Regions from separate parts of the Homo sapiens genome. Here region 2 is linked to region 1. Evidence: promoter capture Hi-C in human tissues and cell types (Jung and others, 2019). All regions are on one chromosome and are shown on one strand. The core of a region is centred on a gene start or on the middle of the fragment in contact, and the rest is flanking DNA. Distances in the headings are between cores, read along the strand shown.

The links. The method cuts DNA at HindIII sites, captures the fragments that hold promoters and counts their contacts. A contact is called where the count stands out against the background at its distance.
Region 2: a contact is called between a fragment that was not itself captured here and the fragment with the promoter of PPIF in region 1, in 1 of the 25 tissues and cell types used here (bladder).

The regions. Positions count from the first base shown.
Region 1 is chr10:79,345,695-79,350,229 of GRCh38, reverse strand. PPIF (peptidylprolyl isomerase F) reads right to left here and starts at 2,761. Exons shown (of 6, transcript NM_005729.4): 1 at 2,487-2,761; 2 at 1,124-1,154; 3 at 477-565. The coding sequence starts at 2,681. RefSeq lists an enhancer at 513-1,013, cis regulatory regions at 1,780-2,280, 1,963-2,463, 1,992-2,492, 2,495-3,017, 2,485-3,017 and 5 more and silencers at 2,328-2,557, 2,578-2,987. The HindIII fragment of the contact is 10,018 bases long and covers 1-3,783 here.
Region 2 is chr10:80,140,202-80,144,736 of GRCh38, reverse strand. PLAC9 (placenta associated 9) reads right to left here. Exons shown (of 4, transcript NM_001012973.3): 2 at 2,558-2,655; 3 at 394-514. Among named protein-coding and RNA genes, the nearest start is that of PLAC9, 9.7 kb to the right of the region's middle. The HindIII fragment of the contact is 7,716 bases long and covers 1-4,535 here.

The DNA of each region.
Region 1 (4,535 bases), core at 1,512-4,011:
CGAGAATAATGCCTTTCTCTGGGAAGGGAAGCCCCAAGTCCTGGCGTGTGTGTTCCTGCCCTGGACCTGTCTTCCTCCTCCGCCTCCTCCACTTCTCTCTCTCCCTCTCTTATCTCCCACACCAGTGCTCAGGGGCACACAGGGGACAAGGTCAGAGACCACTGGAATATGCTGGCTCTTCAAAGTCTTCAAGGCCACCCCCAGCACATCCATCTCCCAACCCAGCTCTCTCTTGATAGACTCCACCTCCCAGTCCCCCGGGCAGGGCCTGCCACTGACCTGGAGTGGCAGCGGGTTGGGGCTGGGCTTCCATGTGCAGTGAAGCCTGGATACAGGGCTAATGCAGGGAGGGCAGCCTGGCTGACAGAGCAACTGCAGCTGCTCTGCTCAGCACCTTCCTCATACCAGGCATCTTCACACACCCACAAGGCAGCTCCTGCTCTCATCCCCCCTTACAGAAGAGGAAACTACATTACCTGGCACATGAAGGAAGGGATCACCCTGTGGAAGGTGGAGCCTTTGTAGCCGAAGCCCTTCTCACCAGTGCACAGGGCTCTGAAGTTCTCTGAGGGTCGAAGAGAAACACAGGTCAACAGGGCCAGGCCCCAATTCCAGGGTCATACCCGTTCCAGCCAAAATCCCTGCTACATCCCCAGCAGTGAACAGGGGGATAAAGACTCTGGCCCACCTCTTGGGTCTGCTCTGCCCAACTCGCTATGTAACTGGACAAGTCACTCCCCTTCCCTGTCCTCAGTACCTGAGCACTGTGACAAGAGTACAGGCTCATGGCTGTGCTGGCCAGCAGGGCACGGACTCAAGGGCTGTGTGCCCATCACCCTGCCTCACTGGGCACCAGGAGTGGGGAAGTCTCCGGGAAATTTACATGTGCCTTCCACTGGCTCTGAGGCTCCCAGCTACTATGAGAGAGGAGGGCAGAGCCAACGTTGAGGCCCAGAGAGGGATGGCAGGGCTGCCCCAGAGCACCCAATGGCTGAGCCACACATGGAGCTCCCATCTGTCAGGGGTCTCTGAGCCCCGACTCTTCTCATCACGCCACCCACCTTGCCCTGCCTGGCCCCCTTCCCTCTAGACCCATCTCAGAAGGCCCCAGGCCCTGTCTTACCAGCTGTCTTTGGGACGACATCTGCCTTCAGCTGTTGGGGGAGAAGAAGGACAAAAGAGGATGGTCATTGGAGAGGCAGGTGAAGGTGGGTGTCTCTCAGCACCCACCCACCCCCACAGTGGCCAAGGAGGCTAAGGAAGAAGCACGTGGACATTCCATTCCCATTATTGCCAACCCCCATGGGAGGCAGCTCTATCATTTCTGGGAGCCGTTTCCTGAACCCAAGGCTGGAGGAGGTGGCCTTGGTTTCCTAATCTGTCAGAAGAGATGACAATGCTATCTTGGCCTACTTCTGTGGACACAGCTGGCAGTGCTCCCACAGCTGGGCCCAAAGCATCAGAAATTCAGGGACAAGAGAGTGTGTCTAAGGTAGAAGCCAGACCAGCTCCTCCATTCGGGGTTGGGAAACTGAGGCCCAGGGAGAGGCATGAGGGTGTGGGGAGGGAAGGCTGAAGCCCCATCCCAGCCAGCCTCTACCCTCGAAGCTGCAAGACCCACCCTGGAACCAAATGGAAGCAGGAAGGGTGTCCCTATTTTCCAGAAGAAACTGAGAATGAAGAAGAAATACTAAGGGCTCCCTGGGATACGGGCCAGTCAACACAAACAGACCCCTGCTGTCAATGTGTGGCCGACCTGAAGGCTCCACTAGGGCTTTCCCTCTAAAGCTACCCTGGTGACTGTTTCTTACTTTGCTTTAGAAAAGACCCAAAAACAGAGTTAGGGGAGGTGCTCAGTGTGGCCCCCAAGGACAGTGGCAGGGGTTGAGGCGCCGGGCACACTGTCTCTGAGTGTGTCCCGACTCGCAGGAGGGGCATTCTGGGGTCCACCAGGTGGCCGGGGCCTGAGGCCTACTGGGCCCGCACTACTGCTGGAAACCACCTCTCGCTCCATTTCCCAGCACCCCCAGTGTGAGCCCGACCGCAGGGGCGGGGCCGGAGCCAGGAAGCGCTCCGTGTTGTGCAAGGGCCGCCACGTGAGCACCCGCTGGGCCACGACGCTCACCCCAAGACCCCCGACACCCACCTCGGAGCTCCGGATCTAGGCTCAGCCCCAGAAGGCTCCTGGAGCCCCTCCCTCGTGCCCGGGCCGGCCCAGAGGTGCTGAGCCCTCCCTCTCTGCGATCTGACCTTGAGCTTTCTCCTCCACACGTGCCCTCCCTCCCGTCTCCCCCGCTCCAGTGCTCCGAGGGAGGCCGGAAGAAATCATTCTGACGCCCATTCTCAGAAATGGGGAAACTGAGGCCCAGAGCTCGGCATGGGGAGGCCCAAGGTCACCCAGCGCGCCCGGCACCGCGCCGCCCGGGGCCCAGGGCTCTCCCCGGGCCCGTGTCCCGCGCCCAGGCCGGCCCTGCGAGCGGTCTCACCTCCAGCACCACGCGGCCGAGCGGCTTCCCGTTGGCGTCCACGTCCAGGTACACGAGCGGGTTCCCGGAGGAGGAGGAAGAGGACGGGTCGCCGGAGCCCTTGCTGCAGGCGCGGGCCGCGGGGAGGCGCAGCGGCACGGAGCGCGGGACGGAGAGCAGGCCGAGCCAGCGGGAGCCGCAGCGCAGCGCCAGCATCGCGGGCGCGGGTCGGGCGGGACACGGGCGGGGAGAACACAGAACTCAAACTGACGTCGCGCGCGCCCAGAAGGCCGAGTCCCGCGCAGCCGCGCGCCGCAGCCTTTATTGGCTTGCCCAGGTTCCCGGCCCTGCCCCCGTCCCGCCTCCTCCAGGCCTGTCCGTGGACTACCCCTGCCGGCCGCAGCGGGCAGCGCAGCCAGCCGGTGGGGCCGCGGAGCGTGAAGTGCTTTGAAACACTCCCGCCTCCAGGCCCAGAGACCCGGAGAACAGACACCTGGCAAAAGGTTGCTGGTTCCATGTTTATTAAGGTACCAGCAGATTTTTTTAAAAAAAGAAAAACTGCTAAAACGTAATTAATTCCAAAATATGAGCATCTATACGTTGCAATTTGAATATAATAGCAAAAGTCTACCTTTGAGCCCTTTGCAGGTAAGGCTCAGGCCAAATAAGCTTCCCTGCTGCCCTAGGTCCTGCAGTCTGAGAGGGTTAGAGAAAGGTGAGATGAGAGGCGGGATTAGTGAGCTAGAGGCGCAAGAGGGAGGAGATAAGCTGAGACACCTCCCATGATGCCCCCTAGCCTGCTTGTCCCGGCCTGGGCCTGTCTCTAGTTGTTTCTGGGGACCAGACCTGCTTCTAGCAAGACTGAAAACGCAGCCTGGGCTCATCATGCTCCTTTCAGGCCCCCAGCCCTCCCCAGGACTGGGTCTGATCCCTCCTCCTAGGACCCACACTGACAGCCCCGGGGCAGACTGCCAGCTGCCCCCTCCCATCAGCATGCACCCTGGGAGGGGACTCAGTGGGGAGACCCACAGCAGGAGCATTTAAACCCCACGTGCTGAAAGTGGGCTTCCCAGCAGCCAGAGCCACCCTCACTGCAAGGTGGTGGGAGGTCTGCAATAAATGGATGCCACGCAGGGACCTGAGAGAGCATCTGGCCCAACACTTGTACTGTCCCCAGGGGAAGCTGAGGCCTGGACACAGGAAGGCACTGGCTAGGGCTAGGGAGCCCTGGAGTATTGCTACCAGCTTGCACCAGTGCTCCAGGCCTCTCTGGGCCTCAGTTTCCCATCTGGAGGGTAAGGGTGCGATCATGCTCCTCATCCTGCTTTTTTCTCGTGTCTGTTCTTAGGATAAAATGAACGAGAGAGACATGGATTTGTCAACTAAGTACTGTGCCTGTGGGCATCTGTGATGGACAGAGTCTGGACTGTCTTTCTCACAGTTTGGGATTCAGAGAGCTGCGGTCTCAGTTAGAGGCCTGAGGGGTCAGAGAAAGGGGTGGGGCTGAGCCTTGGAGGCAGGTGGGCAGGAGTAGGGACCAGCTCTGGACTGACCTGCCCCAGATCCTGAATGGGCTCATGGGAACAGGTCAGGCAGCAAAATGCCAGCCAAGCAAATTCATGAGGTCAGAGCAGTGCCCTAGCTTCATAAGAATGCTAGCTTGGCCTCTGGAAGTTTGGCTAGCTTGGCTTCTGGAAGTTCATAGCCCCCTTCTCCGATTCCTGGCCTAGGAGGGGCCTAGGCACCCAGTGAAGCCCAGGTGGGATGCATTCCAGGTCCCAGCCCAGAATGGGGCCTCACTCTGCCCTGGGGAGCAGCCCCTCCTTTCTTATGATTGTGCCCTGAGGTGAGCAGGCCTGAGTGGGGAGCCCACTTGAGCCCTCAGCACATGTCCCAGACCTTCCTCTACCAGTGCATCCTGTGGATTTGAGAGTGGAGGAATCACGCCATGTGCCTTGTCATGAAGCTTCCTTAAGGCCCCAGGCTTCCCTGCGGCCAGTTCCAGGCCCTGAGCTCACAGGACCTTCAGCCACAGCAGGTAGCTCAGCGTACCCTGTTGTTTCTCAAGCC
Region 2 (4,535 bases), core at 939-3,438, 800 kb before region 1:
GATCAGTGGGGACGCCCGTCTTCCCTGCGAGAGTTTTGGGGTGGAACAGGAGTGGCTGCTCAGGGGAAAATTAAAGGAGCTGAGAAGCTCCAGTCGTGAGAAGGCTAATGAAGGAGGCAGTTTCTCCGCGCAGGGGTTGTGCTGAGATGGCATCTAGGGCCGGCTCTTCCAGAACCTCATTTGACACTGGGCGGCAGCCACCGGGTGTGGCAGGTGGGGCGGGGCGGGCGGGGAGCAGGGATGATGCCGTCCCGCTTCCGTCCCCAGGGAGCGCTGGGGCCCTCCCTGCCAGCCAGGCTACACCTGTGCAGTGGAGCAGCCGTCCCTGTCTCGCCTGCCCAGCGCCAGATGACAGCCGCCCAGAGGCTGTCCTCTGCCACCTGCACTGCTCACCTCCGAGAAGGTCGGGAGCGGGGCTGAAGGGTCCCGGGGGCAGGTTCCAGGCCAGCTCCTCCAGCAGGCCCAGCAGGCCTTTCACCTCTGTCCCCAGGTGATCCACGGTCTTCTCTACCATCTAGAGTGGGAAGTGGGGTAAAGTCGAGGACAGAAGTGGTTCCACGTTCCGCTTCATCAGCTAGGTCCTAAGAGAGCAGCTGGCGGTCCAGTGCGGTGCAGTGGGAAAGGACTGGGCGCTAAGTGACCTGGGTTTTCCTCACTCAGGCTCTGCCCCTACCTGCCTCAGTTTCCCCAGATGACAATATCCTAGGGGGCTTGCTCTCTAAGGCTCCTTCTTTTTTGGCACTTAGTCACAGATTTGGATGAAGCGCCTGTAGAATACCTTCTCCCTTTTGGACTTTGCAGCCTGGAGCTCACATTCCTTTTGTTGTTCCGCCCCCTGGTGGTATCTCTGCCAAATGACAGGTTTGGGATTCTGAAATTTACTGAGTTCTTAATGGTTTTTCCCTGTGTATGCCATGGACCCCATTGGCAGTGTGGTGAAGCCTACAGACCTCTTCTCAGAATAATGCCTTAAATGCAAAAAATAAAACATATAGAATTACTAAGGGCACCAATTGCATTAAAATATTATTCAAGTATTAGGCCGGGCGTGGTGGCTCACGCCTGTAATCCCAGCACTTTGGGAGGCCAAGGGGGGCAGATCATCGGAGGTCAGGAGTTCAAGATCAGCCTAGCCAACGTGGCGAAACCCTGTCTCTACTAAAAATACAAAAAGAAGCCGGGCATGGTGGTGCGCGTCTGTAGTCTCAGCTACTCGGGAGGCTGAGGCAAGAGAATCACTTGAACCGGGAGGTGGAGGTTGCAGTGAGCCGAGATCACACCATTGCACTCCAGCCTGGGTGACAGAGTGAGACTCTGCCTCAAAAAAAAAAAAAAAAAAAAAAAAAATTCAAGTATTTAAAATTAAACTTTTTGGCCCAGCATGGTGGCTCACGCCTGTAATCCCAGCACTTTGGGAGGTTGAGGCGAGATCACTTGAGGTCAGGAGTTTGAGACTAGCCTGGCCAACATGGTGAAACCCCATCTCTACCAGAGGTACAAAAAATTAGCCGGGCATGGTAAGTACAAAAAATTAGCTGGGCATGGTGGTGCATGCCTGTAGTCCCAGCTACTCGGGAGGTTGAGGCATGAGAATCACTGGAACCTGGGAGGCAGAGGTTGCAGTGAGCCAAGATTGTACCATGGGCTCCAGCCTGGGTGACAGGGCAAGACTCTGTCAAAAAAAAATTTAAATTTTTGATGTAATATATGTATTGGCCGGGCACAGTGGCTCATGCCTGTAATCCCAGCACCTTGGGAGGCCGAGGTGGGCAGATGGCTTGAGCTCAGGAGTTCGAGACCAGCCTGGGCAACATAGCAAAACCTTGCCTCTACAAAATAAATACAGAAATTAGCTAGGCATGGTGGCACATGTGTCTGTAGTCTCAGCTACTTGGGAGACTGAGGTGGGAGGATTGCTTGAGCCTGGGAGGTGGAAGTTGCAGTGAGCCGAGACTGCACCACGGCACTCCAGCCTGGTAGACAGACAGAGACCCTGCCTCAAAAAAAATAAAATGTATTTATTAACTCACTAAATCACATGATTTAACATCAGGCCTAATAACAACTGAAATTTTGACATAAGGAAGGATAAAAATTATATGTTGAGATATTCATAACTAGAAGATGAAATTATCTGGATTTCTATTGATGACAAAGTTATAGTACTGTTAATACCACGGCTCGCTGTTTGTATTTATGATGAATGAGAATGCTCAATTTCAGTTAAAGGCTTGTGACAATAAAGATGTAAACTTTTCCCCACACAAGTTAGGAATCGTGGCTATATAACAAAACAGTGACTGAATTTCCACCTTCCCATCCAGTAATGATGTTGAAATATCCGGGTGGGGGTAAGCAAGGCCTTAGGGGAGGCAGGGTCCACTGGGGGCTGGGCAGCCCGGCAGCCTAGATGGGAGGGTGATGTTGGACGAGGTGGCCACAGGGCAGGATCGGCCCGGATGTCCTCACATTCCAAAGCAAGCTTGCATCTGCCCATAAAAACACCATCCTAGAAGGTGGTCCTGAACTCGCATGTCCTTCCAAACCACCCTGTTACCTCCTCCATGACATCTAGACGGCGTTGCACAGCCATGTGTCTGTCACACGCTGTGCTCTGAGCTGAGTCTCCTCGCGGAGGGCTGAAGGGTTCGGCAGCTGTGGGAAAACAAGTCTTGTCACTGTGGGACCCTTAGTTTTCCATAATGCCAGAGACTCCTGTAAACACTGGGCTCAAATGAGGTCAGTCCTCAAAGCAAACTCAGGAGCAAGCGGAGGACGGCCCAGGTGGGGGTCAGTGTGCGAGTGTCAGCCATCTCAATCCCACCAGTCTCTACAGCCACAGTCACCTACAGACCCAGATGAACTTCCTCAAGGAGGTGAAGCCCAGGGAGGAAGGGAGGATGGGCTTCAGCCAGGCAGAATGGCACCTGCAACAATGGAGAGGTCTGAAAGAGCAGGGCTCACTGTGCAAAACCTGCAGGGAGCCCGCGGTGGCTGGAGATACAGGGTGGGCGGGAGAGAGAGACTGGAGAGGGAAGTCCTGGAAATGAAGCCAAGGGGGCAGAGCTTTAACCCAGGGGCTTTAATAAACCAGTTCTGATGCTTGTTTGTTTTTTTGTGTGTTTGTTTGTTTGTTTTGAGATGGAGTCTCGCTCTGTCGCCCAGGCTGGAGTGCAATGGTGCGATCTCAGCTCACTCCAACCTCCGCCTCCTGGGTTCAAGCGATTCTCCTGCCTCAGCCTCCTGAGTAGCTGGGATTACAAGCACCTGCCACCACGCCCTGCTAATTTTTGTATTTTTAGCAGAGACAGGGTTTCACCATGTTGGTCAGCCTGGTCTCAAACTCCTGACCTCAGGTGATCCACCCGCCTCAGCCTTCCAAAGTGCTGGGATTACAGGTGTAAGCCACCAAGCCAGGCCAAGGGGGGTTATTTTAACAGAAAAGTCACAGAGCCAAACATGAATTTTTTAAATATAGGGAATAGATTGGAGGGAGATGCCTTTGAAGGCAGGAGGTTACTGCAGCAATCAGGATAAGAGGGGTGAAGGAGAAGTGATGAGCAGAGGCAGGAGCTGTAGGAATAGTGAGGAAGAAAATGAAAGGAGATATTTCAGTAGCAGCGTTGACACTGGGAACCCGTTAGTAACAGCTGGCATGTGATGAGTGCTTACCATGCACCATGTAGGGTGCTAACTTAACCTCTCCAACAACCTGTTGTTATGCCCAATCTACACGTAGGAAAACTGATGCACAGAAGGGTGAAAGGATGTGTCCAAAGTCACTACTCATAAGCAGAGGACTCATGAGGCCAAGAAGAGGGCCAATAAATTGGGAGAAATGGGGGCTGAAGAGGCTGGAGGTCTTAGGAATCACAGGAGGAACAAGAGGTAAAGAATATTGCAATTTTAGCCAGGCATGGTGGCTCACACCTGTAATCCCAGCACTTTGGGAGGGCGAGGTAGGCGCACGAGGTCAGGAGATTGAGACCATCCTGGCTAACATGGTGAAACCCCTCTCAACTCTTGATTCACCATTGTTCTCCTTGAGTTAGCTCTTCCAGGCACCATCAACCCTCAGAGCAGAAGTCTCAGAGCCCTGATGCCGAGCTTGGGTTTCAGAGTTGGTAACCCTGAGATGCCTGTGGGGCATCAGGGTTGGCTGGAACCTTGGAGAACGCTGACACTCAGGAAGGAGGGTGCTGCCCCAGAAGTCAAGAGAAGCCAAGAGCTTTACAGATTCTGCAGAGGATGAAAAGCGTCAGCAGGGCCGAAAGCAGCGGAGAGGTCTAGCAAGATAAGGACTGGAAAGAGAGCACAGAAAGGCCCTGCTAAATTTCACCCCAGCACTTTTAGGAGTGGTGGAAAAGCAGAGTTTGGATTACCATGAGATGAGGAGGGAAGGTGAGGTTGGGGGTGGAAACTTGGATTCTGGAAAATTTCACGAAGCTTGGCTGTGAAGGAAGGGAGATTGGATCGCAAGGTCTAGAGGAGTATTTATGGTTGTCATTTTTTTTTTTAAAGCATTGGAAAACACA